Linked DNA regions of Homo sapiens: region 1 is linked to region 2. The links are contacts of gene promoters, found by promoter capture Hi-C in blood cells and fetal thymus (Javierre and others, 2016). All regions are on one chromosome and are shown on one strand. Each heading gives the region's core, a stretch centred on a gene start or on the middle of the fragment in contact. The rest is flanking DNA. Distances are from core to core; before and after follow the strand shown. Region 1 has its middle 17 kb from the start of GKN2. Region 2 holds the start of PROKR1 (prokineticin receptor 1).

Region 1 (3,630 bases), core at 1,094-3,593, 290 kb before region 2:
AGTTGGGGTGCAGGAAGGGGTGTTATGACTGGTAAACTCCTTTGGAATCTACTGCTTAGAGATGTGTTATCCTCATTAATTTTTATAGCATTGCTCCTATTTTTAGCATTTGCTCTCTAACTCTCCTCTTTGCTGTTGTCATGCTGAATACGTGTTAGGAGCAGCCAGTGGAGGATAACAGGCACACCCTAAAAGGAATGTGTCTAAATGGAAGCTACAATGCAGCTGGGGCTTTGGTTATATTTTTTCCATAATTAGCCCCCTCTTAAAGACTGAAAAAAGTAGACATCGACTCCGTTAACTTACTGGATGCTCAAGCCAGAGACCCTCTCTGGGCCATCAGGGAGAAGGAGCAAACCTGGACCGAATACCACAAAGCACCCAGGATGCTGGAAGAGTTGGTCAGACTACAAAAGCTGGCTTGAGCTGAGTTATGCCTCCCTGCCCAGAGTCTAGTGGGTTCTGGCAGTGCTCTCTCCTCATAGTGGCCCAGCTGAGAACTGATGGTATCCTCCAATGCACAGTCAGGCTGGAATGGCCTTGTGGATCCACAATGGGGACCTAGAGGCAAGTTAGTTTGATAGGGAAAAGGCAGAGTTCTAGGTCATCTGTGCCCTGACTAGTTTATTTTCAAGCCAGCCGAGCAATCTAGCTTTCTGCGGGATGGAGGAGCAGGTATCCAGCATTGGAAACCCATGGAGAACGGGGGAGAAAGAGAGAGGAGGACCTTTCAGCTGTGGAAGGCTCTTTGGAGAATGGTTTGTGGGAGGGGATTAGTTCTGGTTTGGCCATACTCCCAGCCCTGTAGCAAAACCTCCTCAGGGCTTCCCCTCTCTCCACACCCCTCCCAGTGAGGCTGATGCTTTGAGCTTACTCCTTACACAGTATTAACCATGCCACACTTATAGGCATTGTCATCTTGGTTTCCCCAACCCCCTTTCTCCTGTGACAGGTCCTTTGCTGGCAGTGGACAGGTAAAATCCTTACTCTAGCCTACTTCAGCTCTGTTCCTCATTCCCCGAGGGGTAGGGACTTTTAGAAAGTGGCCCATCCCATGGTACATGGTCCCTTCTTGACCACACTAGGACTCAAGTACAAATTAGCATTTCCCTTTTTATGAATCACTTAAAAAGTGGTACTACCACACTCCACAGCAGATATTGCCACTTTTAAAATGATTTTTAAAAAGGAGAAGGCTAATTTCTTCCCTGCTGGCTTCCCTACCTGCACCTTGTAGATAGCACCACCCGGGGTGCAGGCTGGGGCAGGCTGTGGTGGGAAGGGAAGCAGTGGTGTCCCAGTTCTGGAGAAAGGCTTGCAGACTCTGCCTTTGGCAGGATTTTTCTGCAATTAGCCATCTCCTGGGCAGAATGAAGGGAATTTCCCAGCCTGTTTCCTGCCTGGGCAGGCTCCTCAAATCCAGGGATGAACTATTAATACTTTCTGCAGGGCCAGCTCTCCTTTTGGTTTTATTATGGTACCAATTCCAGGGCTTTGAGGGTTACAGGGAACCAGGCTTTCAGTGGGGTGGGGCGGGGGGAGGTAGACTGCTTCTCATCTACAGTTGGAGAAGATTCCAGAAGGAGAATACTGTCTGGCTTCACTGTTCTCTCTGGGTTGTTTCCTTGGTTCTCTCCCCAGCTCCATGTTGTCTCAGTCTCCTGGATCCCAGTACCCCTCCAGGTCTTCCATGTGGGCCCCTAGACCACACCACCCACCTTCACACTCCCATTCCACAACTGAGTCCAGTGACCAGCTTATTGATACTTCCTTAATTCTCAGCCAGAGCTAGCCCTCGGATGGCCCAGCGGGTCTCGCTGCTTCAGATGTGGACTTGTGGGCATTCCCTGGCACCATTTTCTCTCTGGGTCCTGTAAGCTCCCAAGTGCAGGAGGTTCTGGGGTACACCTGTGTGCTTGGCAACATCCAGCATTGTGTTTGCTGCTTCATCTAGGTGTCCTGTTGCTCCCATTTCCCGTCATAGGGCATCAATCCTTCAGCAAAGGGAGACAGCAAATGCAATGCTGCCTGTCTGACCACGGGATATACTGGTTCAGATCTCACTAGTGATAGCCCAGACTTCAACTTGCTTTGCAGGGTATTAGATCCCCAATCCCTTAGTGCCCAGGGATTCAAAGTTTGGAGTAATCACAGCCCTGCCAAACAGTAGGGGTGCTGGTGGGGAGTGTCTGCTGGCTGTTCATGAACCTCTGCTGTCCTGGGTCTCTCTCCACTGGACACAGCAGCATCTCTAAGTTACAGACAACAATGTGCTGCCCTGCATGGTTGAACCGCTTCTGACATCTGCTAGGCATCCCGTCCCATGTGCCCTATGCCCTCTTCGATGCCAGTGAGTCACAATGGTCTATGCTTATTCACAGCAGTAATACCTAGGGAGTGCCCACGAAACCCTTTAGTCCTGGTCCCTCACTCCGCATGGATCTCCTGGGAAGGCATCCACTGAGTGGATCAGTTCATGAGAACCTGCATTTATGAAGCTCTGGAGTGTGTAGGCATCATCCTCAGTGAAGACAAGTAAGAGGCCCAGCCCTTAGAGGAGCTGCAGCAGGGAGAGTACCTTCCACCTTGAGGCCACCCCAGACCTGGAGGAGCTGCAGGCCCTGGCTCTGCAAAAGGACCTTTGAGGTGGGTGAGACTGTCTCCCAAATGGGCAGCTCTTGAAAAGGACACATGACCAGTGTGTGTGCGTACTGCCTGCTCTGAGTCTTCATTGGTCCCTCTGTCTTCCTTTTCATATGTATGCACATAAAATATACTGATGTTTGTGTTTTTTTTTTTTTTTTAAAAAAAAGCTGGCCTGAAGGAGCAACTGGGCCCAGGATATGAGTGTGCCAATGGAGCTTTTGCAGGAAGCTGGGTGAGGCATGTAGATGAGGTTCTTATTTTTGTTATTTCCCATACAATTGTGTTTCTTACAGTAAATGACATGTCACATGTCACGCAAACTCGTTTGCTCATCTGAGATAGAATTAAATAGGATTTGTTCATTCAGAGCTCCCAGGATTAGAATACATGGACCCAGACAAATACTTTATTATACAAATGTCTGTTTGGATAACTGACTCAATGAATGAATTCAAGCATTTGTTAACTCAAACATAATAAATATAAATTGGTGAATTAATAAAATATTGAGACTTCTAGCTTCTAATAATGATGAAGTAGCTTATATCAGACTAACATGCCTTCCATAACAATTGTAAACCTGGAAAAAAATATAAATAGTAGCCATTTGAAGACAATAAAGTTACCCCAAACAGGCAGAAACTAACGAGGATATGACCTTTAAAAGAAATGCTTATTCATCTATTGCTGGTAAGAGTTGTCTAATACTCTGTGGCAAAACCAGTCCATTGATTACCCAACCCCACAGCTCCAATTTAAGTAGCAACAAAAAAAAAGCCCTTAATTTTAGAAAATATATTCCTTTAGTTCCAGGGGATTAATCATGATTAGTCTGAATCAGTAGTTTTCAACTGGGGTGTGATTTTTCTCCCCTCCCCTGGAGACGTCTAGTGGTGTTTGGAGATATTTTTGATTGTTACAGCTGGAGGGTACGTTATTGGCATCTAATGGGTAGACACCGGAGATGCTGCTAAATATCCTACA
Region 2 (3,621 bases), core at 1,015-3,514:
GAACCCCATGGTGGTCTCCATCTGGCCAGGTGGTGCTGTGAGCAACACTGCTCAGAATTCCCCAGGGCAATGTCTGCAAGGCTGATGTCACCCCTCTCTGCTATCAGCCAGCTCTCCCTTAATGAGTCAGAATGTCTCTGCCAGCATCTTTGGGGTATGGTATCTGAGCTCCATTCTAAACCTTTGAAAGACATACAAACAGTTGGCTATATGTTGCAGTAAAGCTGGCCAAATTCAAAACCACCCTGTAACCTAAGCAGACCTATTAGCTCCCTGCCCAGAGTGAACATAGGGTGATGGAGTGGAAATAAAGGAACCAATGAGAGAAAATGAATGAAAACCACATACTCAATTAGGGAAGGGTGGATTGCTATAGAGACAATCAAGCACTGGCTCAGTTTATTTCTGTTCCACTGAAGACTCAGAAGTGTTGCACCTTTTCTCAAGGACAAAAGTTGGGAGTGTGGGGAGGCTGAAGAGAAAGAAATTTCTTTAAATGCTATTTAAGAGGGAGGGCTTTCAGACAAGCCTGTCTGCTCTCCTTGCTCTTCTGGCAGAACATGGCTCTAAAATCACAGAGCCATAGAGCAGCCACCTTCCTCACTATTTGCTGGACTTCCTGTTCCCACATTAGAACCTGCTATGACCCTAGAAGCTGGGAACAGCATTTATGAAGGCCTGTCCCCAGACAGAGGCTGTAGGGTAAAGTCACAGCCTGTGACTAACCAAGTGATGAGAATGGGGACGCTAGAGCAAAATTTTTCCTTGGCTGGTTGAGTGTCCAGGGGTAAATAGCTTAAACACTCAGAGGTTCAACTTCTGCCAGGCAGGAGATCAATAATGTCTGCACAGCCTGGAGCTCCCTGGAGGAGAGTGTTACACCCTAGAACTGCAAGGAGTTACTACTGCGCTCTCAGGCCTCCTCTGTCAGCTGCAAGGAAGGGGAGCGAAATCCTGATACAGGGACTCCACCACACCACATAATGGGGCTGGGGTGAGGGGTCTAGGGGGGTGTCAGCTGCCCTGGTGGGGACAGGGAGGCAGCCAGAGTCCCCCTGTCCCCTGCTCTCTCCCTGCAGTCCCTCCCAAACCCTGAAGACATCAGACCAGGGAGTGGGACGTAGAAGGAGGGCTGAGGTCTGGAGAGCACCCTAAAACAAATGTCAGGAGAACAGAGGGAAGAATGCAAGCCAGAGTTTTCCTGGGAAAGGAAGATGAGGAAGATGCCCAGGACCCCACCTCCCCACCCCCAGGAAAGCCTGCTCTCCATATTCCTCCGAGGCAAAACATCTGGAGCCTGTCTTCTTGGGGCCAAGTTTAAAGTCCCTCTGCGCCCCAGTGAGGCTCAGCCCCATTGCTGCCTCTCTGTCCTAACTCCTTACCCTGATTTTTTCCTTCCTCCGAGCTCTCAATTCTGTCTGGCTCAGCCCTTGCCCTCTGCCCACTCAGGGAGGAGAGGCAGAACTCAGCTGAAAAGAAGGAGGGGGGCAGGCTTGGAACCCAGGCGGGACAAGCCCCACTCCTTGCAGGTCCCGTGGGTCGCAGAGGCATGCCACTCCTGGAGGGGTACCCCTACAAGCATGCTACCTGAAGGGTCAAAGTAGTGTTTAAAAGCAAAGAATACAGAAGCTTCGGGGGTGGAGAGGAGGGCGTCACGAGATTAAGGATGATTGTCCAGAGGTCTTTTCTCCTTTATTCTCACCGTTCAGAGGGGAACCCCAATCCTACCCCCACCTGGTGACCTCTCGATCGCTAGAAGCCTCTCTCACAAACCCCTGCTGGCAAGTCCCCCGCCTGCTCCCAACTTTCTCCCTGGAGCCTGGGCAGCTTCCCCTAAGGACAGAGGAGGGGAAGCCTGGCTCTCCTGAAGAAACTCACAGGAGTGAATCCCTGGCAAAGTCCCCTCTTCACTCAGAAGCCGCCGCACCCCACGGCCGCAGCCAGTGCAGCGCGGGGTCCCTGGAGCATCCTCCCCGGGAGGGCGCGCTCTGTACCTGCGGCATCGCGGAGCCCGGCAGGCAAGGTCCGGGTTTCTTATTCCGGGGCCGGATCAGGAGACGCTTCTTCCAGAAGCCGGCAGGCGAAGGGCAGGTCCCCGCTCCCTTCCTCCTCTGCTCGGGGCTCTTTCCCGGCTCTGGCGGGGGAGTTACCTTCGCGCCGCCGCTGCAGATCCCCCGACCCGGCCCGCGCCGGACTCCCTGTCCCCGCCTCCGGTGGCCGTGAGGCGCCGAGGTGCGGGCTCTTGGCGAGGCGTGTCGCCAGCTGGGCTGCAGAGGCCGGGATCGCCCTGGGCGGGAGCGTCCGGATCGCCCTGGGCGGGAGCGTCTGGAGCTCCCAGGCGGCAGCTCGCGACGAGGACGCGCGGGAGGGAGCCGGGCCAGGCGGGCTGCGCGTTGCCCGGCTCAGGCTTCGGAACGGCCGCCTGGGGCAGGAACGGGGTCGCTGGGGCTCCGGGCAGGGCTCTGCGTCAATCCCGCGCCGGGGGCACCCATGCAGGGCGGCTGTGCCCGCCTCGGGGCACGGGGCTCCTCGGCGGCTCACCTTGGCAGCCCAGCGCCGTCGGAGTGGACGGACACGGCCCCGCTCAGCCGCGAGCTTGCAAAGGACCGAGGAGCCTCCCCCGCTGCTCACACACCTCCTCAGGGGACACTCAGGGGCCGGCCCCAACCTGGTCCCCTGGGCCAGCCTGAACGGACACCAGGGCCATCTTTGTTGCCAGCTGCCCTACCTCTCCGTAAAAGAGGCTCAGAGAAGTGCTTTCTGGAGAGCAAACAAGGGGGCGGGGTAGCACACTGGAGAGAGGAAGGACCCCCGCCCAGGGATGTCTGCTTAGAAGGCTGGGACGGACAGCGCTGACTTACAGAGCACAGTCTACCTTTACAAGCCCATAGATTCCTCAAAACGTGAGGCATATAGTCCCGCAATCCCACTCCAAGGTATGTAACCCCAAACTATTGAAAGCAGGGACACACATACACTGATGTTCATGGCAGCACTATTCACAGTAGCCAAAAGACAGAAACAACCCAAATGTCCATCAGCTAAGTGGATTAACAAAATACATATAGTATATACATGCAATAGAATATTATCCAGCTGTAAAAAGAAATGATAACAAGTGTTGGTGAGAATGTGGAGAAACTGGAACCCTGTGCACTGTCGGTAGGAAAGTAAAATGGTGAAGCCACTGTAGAAAACAGTATAGGGTTTCCTCAAAAAGTTAAAAAATACAATTACCATATGATCGAGTGTTTCCACTTCCGGGTGTCTAACCCAAAAAATTAAAAGCAGGGTGATACGGTTTGGCTGTGTCCCCACCCAAATCTCAACTTGAATTGTATCTCCCAGAATTCCCACGTATTGTGGGAGGGACCCAGGGGAAGGTAATTGAATCATGGGAGCCTGTTTTTCCCATGCTATTCTCGTGATAGTGAATAAGCCTGACGAGATCCTGTGGGTTTATCAGGGGTTTCCACTTTTGCTTCTCCCTCAGTTTCCTCTTGATGCTACCACGTAAGGAATGCCTTTCACCTCCTGCCTTGATTCTGAGGCCTCCCCAGTCATGTGGAACTGTAAGTCCAATTAAACCTCCTTTTGTTCCCAGTTTCCGGTATGTCTTTA

The links. The method cuts DNA at HindIII sites, captures the fragments that hold promoters and counts their contacts. A CHiCAGO score of 5 or more calls a contact.
Region 1: a contact is called between a fragment that was not itself captured here and the fragment with the promoter of PROKR1 in region 2, in 1 of 17 cell types (non-activated CD4 T cells). The highest score is 5.3, in non-activated CD4 T cells.

Annotation. Positions count from the first base shown.
Region 1 is chr2:68,934,373-68,938,002 of GRCh38, reverse strand. No RefSeq gene overlaps it. Among named protein-coding and RNA genes, the nearest start is that of GKN2, 17 kb to the left of the region's middle. The HindIII fragment of the contact is 9,532 bases long and covers 1-3,630 here.
Region 2 is chr2:68,642,222-68,645,842 of GRCh38, reverse strand. It overlaps PROKR1 (prokineticin receptor 1), which reads right to left and starts at 2,264. Exons shown (of 3, transcript NM_138964.4): 1 at 1,995-2,264; 2 at 1-181. The coding sequence starts at 21. The HindIII fragment of the contact is 2,701 bases long and covers 1,632-3,621 here.